4 separate regions of the Homo sapiens genome follow, and regions 2, 3 and 4 are each linked to region 1. The links are contacts of gene promoters, found by promoter capture Hi-C in human tissues and cell types (Jung and others, 2019). All regions are on one chromosome and are shown on one strand. The core of a region is centred on a gene start or on the middle of the fragment in contact, and the rest is flanking DNA. Distances in the headings are between cores, read along the strand shown. Region 1 holds the start of DLG1 (discs large MAGUK scaffold protein 1). Region 2 overlaps RUBCN (rubicon autophagy regulator). Region 3 has its middle 57 kb from the start of BDH1. Region 4 has its middle 27 kb from the start of BDH1.

What was found. The method cuts DNA at HindIII sites, captures the fragments that hold promoters and counts their contacts. A contact is called where the count stands out against the background at its distance.
Region 2: a fragment that was not itself captured here is called in contact with the fragment with the promoter of DLG1 in region 1 in 1 of the 25 tissues and cell types used here (dorsolateral prefrontal cortex).
Region 3: a contact is called between a fragment that was not itself captured here and the fragment with the promoter of DLG1 in region 1, in 1 of the 25 tissues and cell types used here (mesendoderm cells).
Region 4: a fragment that was not itself captured here is called in contact with the fragment with the promoter of DLG1 in region 1 in 1 of the 25 tissues and cell types used here (mesenchymal stem cells).

Annotation. Positions count from the first base shown.
Region 1 is chr3:197,297,197-197,299,974 of GRCh38, reverse strand. DLG1 (discs large MAGUK scaffold protein 1) reads left to right here and starts at 1,363. Exons shown (of 25, transcript NM_001366207.1): 1 at 1,363-1,439; 2 at 2,740-2,778. The coding sequence starts at 2,771. It overlaps DLG1-AS1 (DLG1 antisense RNA 1), which reads right to left and starts at 1,728. Exons shown (of 3, transcript NR_038289.1): 1 at 1,365-1,728; 2 at 883-997. RefSeq lists silencers at 1,187-1,316, 1,807-2,436. The HindIII fragment of the contact is 3,262 bases long and covers 1-1,678 here.
Region 2 is chr3:197,675,024-197,677,801 of GRCh38, reverse strand. RUBCN (rubicon autophagy regulator) reads left to right here. Exons shown (of 20, transcript NM_014687.4): 17 at 261-322; 18 at 764-917; 19 at 2,287-2,380; 20 at 2,606-2,778. Among named protein-coding and RNA genes, the nearest start is that of MIR922, 1.8 kb to the right of the region's middle. The HindIII fragment of the contact is 4,269 bases long and covers 1-2,778 here.
Region 3 is chr3:197,611,587-197,614,364 of GRCh38, reverse strand. It overlaps the pseudogene SDHAP4. Among named protein-coding and RNA genes, the nearest start is that of BDH1, 57 kb to the right of the region's middle. The HindIII fragment of the contact is 3,475 bases long and covers 1-2,778 here.
Region 4 is chr3:197,581,592-197,584,369 of GRCh38, reverse strand. No RefSeq gene overlaps it. Among named protein-coding and RNA genes, the nearest start is that of BDH1, 27 kb to the right of the region's middle. The HindIII fragment of the contact is 8,951 bases long and covers 1-2,778 here.

The DNA.
Region 1 (2,778 bases), core at 114-2,613:
TCCCTCCCTGTTTCTTCTGAATTCTGAAGAGATTCCATTGTTAGAATGGTTTCTTACTGCAACCATCCCATTCACAGTCCATCAGCGAAGTCTTGAGAGTATGATGCCTGTCATGAGCCACTTTCACTACTAAATAAATTCCGTCCCTCTGTTAAGTTCCCGGCTGTTAGGACACCTCTGCCTTCAGCACCGTTTGACCCTTCTATCCCATTTTCTCTATGCAATGTTGCTTTAACTGTTGTTCAAGATCCCAGGATGCTTGATCCGGGAAAGCACAGAGGTCTGCTGCCAACATACCAACATACCTCTCTGTCAAGTTGTCCAAAATCACAAGAGAAAGAGCCCTGGACTAGAGCTAGGAGACCTGAGTTCTCGGCTGCTCTGTTACTGATTAGCGTCTATGTCCTTGGACAAGTTGCTTCCCTTTTTCCGGACCTCGGTTCCTTGTCCTAGATAGGTTCTAAAGTCGGTGGGTCCTTACAGTAAGTTAGGATTCTAAGGTGCAATCCAAAAGTAAAACCAGTGGTCAGTATACCTCTGAGTAGCTGTTAAGGTTACAATACGAGGTTCCTCGGCCTTCCCTTTGGTAGCCAATGGATACGGCCTCAGTCAGAGGCCGTCAGGTTTACTGGGAAGAGCCTTCCGGTTTTGAAAGACAGGATCTCCGGGTTTCCAGTTCTGTCACTCACTCGGGGTAACTTTGGGCAAATTCTCTCTGGACCTCCTAATAGGGAGGTCCTCGTCACCCCGAGGAAGTTCGAAGACGTGGGCAGTGACTTGGAAAGCTTCCCGAGATTCCCCTTCTATAACCTGGGTGGCTCAGACCGGGAGCGGGGTCCCAGCCGGCCGGTAATTCCGCCCGGAGGTGCGCACGAAACAAACCTGCAGCGCTGGCCGAGGGCGGCTCAGCTTCGGAGGGCGCGACTCCGGGTGAGTTCTTAAAGGGACCGTCAGAGTTTGGGTAACACCTGCGATGCTGACCGGGCGGGGACGCAGGCTTGAGGGAAATGAATGAATGAATGAATGAGCGAATGAATGAACAAACCTTCTCTGCCCACCCTTAAGTATACCATACTCGGAATTAATCAGTTAGGCTTAAAAATCTTGTACTATAACCCTCAAACTCTTGCCAAGTTAACCAGTGTCTCTATTTCATATGTCCTTCTGTAATGAAACCCCTCCCCCCAAGCCTATTACTAAGGGACGAAGAGTAACTTAACAATCAGCCTGGAGTGGAAGGCAATGCAGAGTTGGCACCCCTCCCCGAACTCCTCCCTCTCCCTCTCCCAGGCCCCGCCCTCCCCGCCCCCTGGGAGGTGCAGTTGGCTCCTCCTTAAGGCGGCTTTTCCCCGGTGGGGATCTACCCCCGGGGTCGCCAGGCGCTGTCTCTGCCGCGGAGTTGGAAACGGCACTGCTGAGTGAGGTTGAGGGGTGTCTCGGTATGTGCGCCTTGGATCTGGTGTAGGCGAGGTCACGCCTCTCTTCAGACAGCCCGAGCCTTCCCGGCCTGGCGCGTTTAGTTCGGAACTGCGGGACGCGCCGGTGGGCTAGGGCAAGGTAAAGGCGGGCTCCTCCAGGGCCACCCCGGGCCACCTGTGGAGTCCGAGTGTTAACTCCTTTGTTCTCAGAGCCACTTCAGCGGCCGCCCTTTTAAGCGAAGAGGTTCCCTTAGGATGCTCCCCGGGTACCCCTTCCGTTCCCCTGCCCTCCCCCGACCCGCCTCCCCCTTCCAACCCGAAGGTAGCAGCGCGGGGAGCCCGGGGCTCGGCGCGAGCCGCCTCCTCACTTCCCATTGGCTGAGAGCGCCGGGAAAGCGGTCACGTGGGAGCGCGGCAGGCCAGCTCGGGGGCCGCCATCTTGGCGGAAAGTTTCGGGGGAGAGCGGTTGGGGGCGCGGAAGGAGGCGAGGTTCCGGGGGTGGGGCGTGCGGCAGCAACTGGGCGAGCGGGCCGGGGGGCCGCGGCGAGCGAGGAGGCGGCGCGGCCGAGAAGGAGGACGAGGCCGCGGGGGTGCGGCGGCCCAGGGGAGCTCCTCCCCCGTCCCTTCGCCCCCTCCGCTCGGCTCCGCGGGCCCCGGGCGGGGCGGGGGTACGTGGAGCGGGGCCGGGCTGGGGAGCTGCTCCGAGTCTGGCCGGGGCGCACCCCAGTTCCGAGCGCACGCCGCTCACCGGAACTTTGTGGCGGCGCCGCAGGTGTGGGGGCCCGCGGAGGTGTGCATGCGGGGCGCGAGGGCGTCGCGGAGAGCGGCCGCTGCCCTGTCCGGCCCCCGCTGGAGCAGCCCGGAGGCAGCGAGCAAGGAGAAAGGCAAGCGAGAGGAGGGGGCCCGAGCAGGGCGGGCGGCCAGTCCCGCTGGTCCCCTCTCAGCGCTCTGCGGCCGCTGCTGGCTCAGGGGCCAAGGGTCGGAGCGCTTCACCCGCCCGTACCCAGTAGCAGGTGGGGAGTGTGGATACTTGTGCGGGGGAAGAGGCGGCCTCAGGTCTAGGCTCTTTGGGGAGGGGACGCTTTCGAGGAGAGTTTGGAAGCCGACTTCTGTCTGTTCTTAATTTGGAGGGGTACCCACTCCAAGGAAAAGCTTTCCACGTTGACAGACAACTGCTGCGTTTTGAGACTCTTTCTTTGACTTGGTAAAACTTTGGAACGTGGGGTTTTCAAATAGGCTGCGAGGGTTTTCTATTTCGATAGGGGAAAATGCTAGTTTAACATGATTCTATCCTTTTTCCTTTCCGTTGTGTGTTTTAAAGGTGTGTGCCCTCTTCCTGATTCTGGAGAAAAATGCCGGT
Region 2 (2,778 bases), core at 87-2,586, 380 kb before region 1:
CAGTCTGAAGCCAGGTGTCGAGTTAGAGCGTAGGACAGTCTGAAGCCAGTTGTCAGTCAGAGTGTGGGACAATCTGAAGCCAGGTGTCGAGTCAGAGCATAGGACAGTCTGGAGCCAGTTGTCAGAGCGTAGGACAGTCTGCTCTGGGTGCAGCATGCAAGGCTTCTAGAACCCCAGGGTTTAAAGGCCCTGGGCTTCCCACACTGGATTCCTCTTCTCACATCTCCCTCCCACTCCTGCCCCCCTCTCTTTCTTTTCAGCTGCTGCGGGTCCAGCTGTGTCACATGAAGAACATGTTCAAGACTTGCCGACTGGCCAAGGAGTAAGTCCTTTTGGAGCTAGAGCCCTCTGGCCACGTTGCTGTCTCCGAAAGGGACACATCCCCGCGCTTGGCTCTTGTTATGTAACGAAGGAGAGTAGAGAGATTTTGCAGAACTGTAAAGTGGTAAACAGGAGGCCACAGCAGTAACTGTATCTGTGTCCTTCTCTCTGGAAGGGGATCTGTGGTCATTCCATCCAGGACAGGCCACCTCTCTTCCCAGGCTGGGTCTCACATGGGCCACTCTGCAGGAGCCTATAAATCAGTCACTCCTGCCATCCAGACACCTAATAGCGTGGAACGGCTGCGGCGGCCTGGAACCTTGGGCTGGCTGATGGGTGCCCACCCTCATTACTTTCTGCAGTTTCTGGATAGGGATCCTTCTACTACGATGTGGCACATGCACTGTTCATTCCCTCACCTGCCTCCTGTCACTCCCTGTAGGCTTCTGGATTCCTTTGACACAGTCCCAGGCCACCTGACAGAGGACCTCCACCTGTACTCACTGAATGACCTGACTGCGACCAGGAAGGGGGAGCTGGGGCCCCGGCTTGCTGAGCTCACCAGGGCAGGGGCTACCCATGTGGAGAGATGCATGGTGAGAAAGTCTCACTGTAGCATGCAGCTGAGCCCTTGCTTTTAGGGATACAGGGAGGGGGGTGGACCTGGGGTTCTTGCCACTTAGCTTGAGGAAGTTGAAATGGCCAGTCAGCACTGGGAGAGGAACTGGAAAGGGCTGCTGTTCCTTAGCCTGGAGAGCAGCCAAATCATCCTGATCTAAAGAACCTCGAGTGAGGGGAGGAGCTGGTGCTGGCTGTGGTCCTGGGTAGCTCCGGGCAAGACCGAGTAGACTTTCACTCAAGAAGTGTTGGCCAGGCACGGTGGCTTAGGCCTCTCATCCCAGCAATTTGGGAGGCCGAGGTGGGCGGGTCACCTGAGGTCAGGAGTTCAAGACCAGCCTGACGAACATGATGAAACCCCATCTCTACTAAAATACAGAAATTAGCCGGGCATGATGGCGGGTGCCTGTAATCCCAGCTACTCGGGAGGCTGAGGCAGGAGAATTGCTTGAATCCAGGAGGCGGAGGTTGCAGTGAGCCGAGATCATGCCACTGCACTCCAGCCTGAGCGACAAGAGTGGAAAAAAAAAAGGCAGTTGTCATGATGTGAGAGGAGAGCTCTGGATTGGAATCGAGAGGGAGTCTACCCTCGGCCGTCATTTGTTGTTCTCAGTCATTATGACCAAAATAAATACTTTGTCCCCTCTGAGGCCTCGATTTTCTTGGCTCTAAGATGAAGAGAATAATTTACTTTCTTCTCAGTATTTTTGAGGGTTGATGGGGTAATTTGTATGACAGCGTTTTGTATACTTTATGTATTCCTCAAACGCACGTCGTTATTGTCGTCATCTACTCAACATGTTGAAAATGCAGAAATTACACTTTTAGAACTTCCTGTCTTAGCCTATGCCCAGTTTATGTTCCTGTGACCGTCCCATAATTCGAGCTGGGCACAGGTAGGAAACCCTGTGTGTCTGGGAGGAACTGGAAATCCTTCACTACAACCTGACTCCAGGCTTGGAGCTGTGTTTGAGGAACAGCCTCGTCTCCACATTTTATCTTAATTGCTTGTGGTTCCTATTCTGAAATAAAATCATGACCCAGATGGGACTGTCGGCTTAGGAAGCCCTTTGTGGTGCCATTTCCTCCTTCTCCTCTCTTCATGGAGAGCCGCGCTGGGGGTCGGAGCTTCTCCGGCTGGTGCCTGTCTGATCTTCTGCCTAAAGCTTTGTCTAACGCTGCCCGGCCCTGGTCCTAGTTTAGCTTTCATGCTTCTGAGTCCAGCCCAGGCCTCCTCCCTGTGGGCAGCAGAACCCTGTAGACCACTCCCCTCCTCGGTGTTCACCCTCCCGTGCCAGTTCCTGATGTGCCGCTCCTCATTTTGCCATCTGTGTTTTTCCTCCCCAGCTCTGCCAAGCCAAAGGCTTCATCTGTGAGTTCTGTCAGAATGAGGATGACATCATCTTTCCCTTTGAGCTCCATAAGTGCCGGACCTGTGAAGGTGAGGGCAGGTGCAGGCATCGGGCAAGTGAGCCTGAACACAGGGCTCCTTGATTCCCCAGAGCCACCCCTGTTAGCAAGAGTTCGGTGCCACTCAGCACCTCGCGGGGCCTCCCCAGGGGACACCACGCCTTGGTGGCGAGAAGGGGCTGTGGCAGCAACTGACCTCTAGCTGGAGATAATACAAATTGTTTTCTTCTCTCCCCCACCTTCCCAACCTGAGTAGAGTGTAAAGCGTGTTACCATAAAGCCTGCTTCAAGTCTGGAAGCTGTCCGCGCTGCGAGCGGCTGCAGGCCCGGCGGGAGGCACTGGCCAGGCAGAGCCTGGAGTCTTACCTGTCAGACTACGAGGAGGAGCCCGCGGAAGCGCTGGCCCTGGAAGCCGCCGTCCTGGAGGCC
Region 3 (2,778 bases), core at 192-2,691, 310 kb before region 1:
TCCCATTCTATGCAAAGTCATCCCTCCGTGCACTGAGATAAATGCTTATCTAATTGCCTCCTTTGGAGAGGCTCATCAGAAACTCAAAATAATGCAACCATTTGACTCTCACCTACCTGTGACCTGGAAGATCCCTCTCTGCTTGAGTTGTCCTGCTTTTCTGGATGGAACCAATGTTCATCTTACATATATTGATTGATGTCTCATGTCTCCCTAAAATGTATAAAACCAAGCTGTGCCCTGACCACCTTGGGCACATGTCGTCAGGACCTCCTGAGGCTGTGCCACAGGCATGCAGCCTCAACCTTGGCAAAATAAACTTTCTAAATTGACTGAGACCAGTCTCAGATATTCAGGGTTCACAGTATCCAAAAATCCAATCACATCTGAAACCGCCTTTGCAAAAATTATCACAGTGAGAAAATAATGGCAGTGAAAGAAAGCTGATCTAGCCAACCTCCCTCTTGCCTTTAGCTTTCAAGCTGCTTTTACTTATTCCTGGGTTTAAGCCAAGCTACATGTGGGAGTCATTTAGTTGATAGTTTAAATTATAATAACCCTTCCCCGAAACTCAACCACCCTTGTAATACTGAGAGACCACCAGGCTAGGAGGAGGAGAGGAGCCTAAATTCTGCTAAGGTGTAGACAAAAACAATTGTGAGGCGTTATTCCAGAAGCCACAAGATATGCAACTTCCTCAGTTACCCCTGCAGATAATGTTACTTTTGTAGAACCTAGGATTGGCCTTCTGAGATATCTTCTCAGGATTTTGCATGTCTGATGACCGATGGCTCCACCGGGACCAGCCAACGGCTTCTGTGTCCCCACCCAGAAGCGACTCAGAGAAAGAGGACAGCTTCGACACCCTATGATTTCATCTCTGACCCAACCAATCAGCACTCCCCATACCCTAGCCTGCTACCTACCAAATTACCTTTGAAAAATCCCTAACCTCCAAGCCTTAGATGAGTTTGATTTGAGTAATAACTCTGCCTCCCACATGGTGTGGCTGGCATCATGTCAATTAACCTCTTTCTTTACTGCAGTGCCATGGTCTCCATGAACTGATTTTTTTGTGCAGTGGGCAGGAAGAACCCATCGGGCAGCTACACATCTTGAAAGAGAAGCTCTTCCTGTGAGGTACATCAACTGTGGTTAAGAATCTTACATACTTATCATTTTTTGTTGTTGTGAGAACATTTAAAATCTACCCTTTTCTTTCTTTTTTTTTTTTTTTTTTTTGAAATGGCGTCTCACTCTGTTGCCCAGGCTGGAGTGCAATGGCATGATCTTGGCTCACCACAACCTGCTGGGTTCAAGTGATTCTGTTGCCTCAGCCTCCTGAGTAGCTGGGATTACAGGCATGCACCACTCTTTTAGCAATTTTATTTATTTATTTTGTTATTTTGAAAAAGTATTTTTAACTTTTACTTTAGATTAATGGGGTATATGTGCAGGCTTGCTATATGGGTATATTGTGTGATGCTGAGGTTTGGGGTATGAATGATCCTGTCAGCCAGATCGTGAGCATCGTACACAAGCAATTTTAAAATATACAAATGGTGTGGTATGGTGGTACATGCCTGTAGTCCCAGCTACTCAAGAGGATGGGGCCAGAGGATCGCTTGAGCCTAGGTGTTTGACACCAGCCTAGACAACATTGTGAGACTCTGTCTCAAAAATAATAAATAACAAAACAAAATAAAATATACAATGCATTATTATTTAATACAGTCATTATTCTATGCAATAAATCACTAAAGCTTATTTTTCCTGTCTAACTGAAACTTTGTACTCTTTGATGAACTTCTCCGCTTTCCCCATCCACCCCACTTCCCTGGATTTTATTAAATTAAATTGTATTATATTGAATTTACCAGAATTAATCACTACATTAGAAGAAACTCCAGTGGGTATTCCTAAAATCATGGAGAAGTAGATAGATTTAAAAGCAAAAGAAATGCTGCAATTTCTTCAGAGTTCATAAGAGAACTTCTATTGGAGAAATGGAAAATTTGAGCTGGCTAAGCCTTGAGACCTCCCAAGACTAAGTTATAGGAGTTTAGCCTTCTAAACTACCTCAGGGTACAGCCTGGTCTTAATTTTTAATTTTAAATTTATTTTTATTTTTAATTTATTTTTATTTTTATTTTTGAGACAGAGTCTCATTCTGTCGCCTAGGCCAGAGTTTAGTGGTGCACAATCTCGGCTCACTGCAACCTCCGCCTCCCAGGTTCAAGCATTTCTCTTGCCTCAGCTTCCCGAGTAGCTGGGATTACAGGCATGTGCCACTATGCCCGGCTAACTTGTATTTTTAGTGGAGATGGCGTTTCACCATGTTGGCCAGGCTGGTCTTGAAGTCCTGACCTCAGGTCATCTGCCCACCTTGGCCTCCCAAAGTGCTAGGATTACAGGCGCGAGCCACTGTGCCCAGCCTATTTTTTATTTTTATGGGTACCTATTAGATGTATATATTAATGGGGTACATAAGATATTTTGATAGAGACATACAATGTGTAACAATCATGTCAGGGTAAATGGAGTATCCGTCAGCTCAAGCACTGATGCTTTCTTCATGTTTCAAACAATCCAGTTATACTCTTTTAGTTATTTTTAAATGTATAATAAATTGTAGTCACTCCATTGTCCTATCAAATATTAGATTTTATTAATTCTATCTAACTATATTTTTGTACCCATTAACCATCGCTCATTTTCTCCACCCCCAACTACCCTTTCCAGACTCTGGTAGCCATCATTCTACTCTATCTCCACGGG
Region 4 (2,778 bases), core at 168-2,667, 280 kb before region 1:
TGACTCTGGACAAATGCCATGAGAAGTGCAGGAGTATTCAAAGCTCATTGGTAAATGGTACAGGCTACATCGTTCAGGAGCCAGGTGGCTTGGTAGTGGCAGGAAGCACAGATGCATCTTGCAGAAGAAGCTGCCAAGCCCTGACTCTCCTGCCAGCTGGCCCTGCCACCATAGACCTGGATCTTGGAGAGAGTCACTGCTTTTCCAGGGCAGTCCTTTGGCCTGGGTCTCAAAGACCTCTAAAACTTAGCTTGGGCTTGGCGCAGTGGCTCACGCCTGTAATCCCAGCACTTTGGGAGGCTGAGGCAGGTGGATCACGAGGTCAGGAGTTCAAGACCAGCCTTGCCAACATGGTGAAACCCCATCTCTACTAAAAATACAAAAAATTAAATGGGTGTGGTGGCGGGCACCTTTAATCCCAGCTACTGGAGAGGCTGAGGCAGAGAATTGCTTGAACCTAGGAAGTGGAGGTTGCAGTGAGCCAAGATTGCACCACTGCACTCCAGCCTGGTGACAGAGTGAGACTCTGTCTCAGAAAAAAAAAAAAAAAAAAAAGAAAACAAAAATACAGCTTGGAGTATCCAAAGGACTTGAGAGATAGAGTAGTGGTCAAGAAGCAAGGTTATAAACACCCTGTAAGGACTGAGGTTGCTACCGCTTTAAATTCCATTGAGCATTCGGAAGCAAAATGGTGCATTTTTATACAGTAATTTTATTAAGAGAACAAGTGTCCACCACTGTGTGGCACCCGTATTTGTTCAGCCATAGATTTTAGAGGCATCTTGCAAAGCCTGATTCTAATTAATTTAAGTCCATTAGATGGAATGTGTTACTGTTCCTGGCCAAAACTAAGTTGTCACAGTCAGATTAATTTCTCCTAGCAGAGTGGCAAAGCAATTACGACTGCAAATACGGCAAGTCACTCCTCACCGGCAGAAGCTCATGATATTTGAGGGAGTCTTATGTACCTAAAATGTTCGGTGATAAATTGTTAGATGATATTTAATTAGACAATTAACTCAACGTGCAGCTTGATTATCAGTTAGGTGGAGAGCTCCAGCCTCTCACCGGTTTGGTTCACTGCAGTTTCTCCCAAGCGCTGCTTCCTATTGGGAATGGATGCTCGGCTCCTTTCAGGCTTTCTGTCTTGTCTCCAGCTCACGTGCCCAAGATACGCATCTCCTGGGGACTTGAACAGGCATCAGGCTGGCAAAAAATGGTGGGAATCATGGCCGGGCGCGGTGCCTCATGCCTGTAATCACAGCATTTTGGGAGGCTAAGGTGGGCAGATCACTTGAAGTCAGGAGTTTGAAACCAGCCCGGCCAACATGGTGAAACCCTGTCTCTACTAACAATACAAAAATTAGCCAAGTGTGGTGGTGCACGTCTGTAATCCCAGCTACTCGGTAGGCCGATGCAAGAGAATCGCTTGAACCTGGGAGGTGGAGGTTGCGGTGAGCTGCGATCGCGCCACTGCACTCCAGCCTGGGTGACAGATTGAGACTCCATCTCCAAAAAAAAAAAAAAAAAAAAAAATGGAAATGAGAACTCTGAGCGATCTTCAGTCTTACCGAAGCCTGGCTTGTCATTCTGTGAACACAGAGCTAGAGGTCCAGTGGGAGAGGCTTAAGGCCACACAGCTAGGTAGTGGCAGGAACTGGATACCACTTTTTGACTTGAGAAGTGTGTAGATCTACTGAAATGTTAATTTTTTTTTTTTTTTTTTTTTTTTTTTGAGATGGAGTCTCACTCTGTCTCCCAGGCTGGAGTGCAGTGGTGCGATCTCAGCTCACTGCAACCTCCGCCTCCCGGGTTCAAGCTATTCTCCTGCCTCAGCCTCCCAAGTAGCTGGGATTATAAGTGTGTGCTGCCACACCCGGCTAATTTTTGTATTTTCAGTAGAGACGGGGTTTCGCCATGTTGGCCAGGCTGGTCTCAAACTCCTGACCTCAGGTGATCCACCCACCTCAGCCTCCCAAAGTGGTGGGATGACAGGTGTGAGCCACCACGCCTGGCCATTCATTTCTTATTAGACTCCAGAGTAGAACTTTTTCACAACTTTGTCCCTGTGATGTGCTTTCCTTGAAGATCCTTTCCCTCAGAGAACTGACAGATAGTAAAGAACAGCCAGGAAGAGTGGGCTCTACCGTTCTTCAGGGCTTGCCTTTGGCTTTCTGCCCTCAGAACCAGGAAAAAGAGAACACTTGCTTTTTGTCTCACCCAGCCTCAGGGAGCAGAAATGCTAGAGAAATCCCAAAAGCTTAGGTAAAGATGGGCATAGATAGGAGTGGCTGTCCCCAGGAAAGATGGGCGTAGATAGGAGTGGCTGTCCCCAGGAAAGATGGGCGTGGATAGGAGTGGCTGACCCCAGGAAAGATGGGCGTAGATAGGAGTGGCTGTCCCCAGGAAAGATGGGCGTAGATAGGAGTGGCTGTCCCCAGGAAAGATGGGCGTAGATCGGAGTGGCTGTCCCCAGGAAAGATGGGCGTAGATCGGAGTGGCTGTCCCCAGGAAAGATGGGCGTAGATAGGAGTGGCTGACCCCAGGAAAGATGGGCGTAGATCGGAGTGGCTGACCCCAGGAAAGATGGGCGTGGATAGGAGTGGCTGTCCCCAGGAAAGATGGGCGTAGATAGGAGTGGCTGTCCCCAGGAAAGATGGGCGTAGATAGGAGTGGCTGTCCCCAGGAAAGATGGGCGTAGATAGGAGTGGCTGTCCCCAGGAAAGATGGGCGTAGATAGGAGTGGCTGACCCCAGGAAAGATGGGCGTAGATCGGAG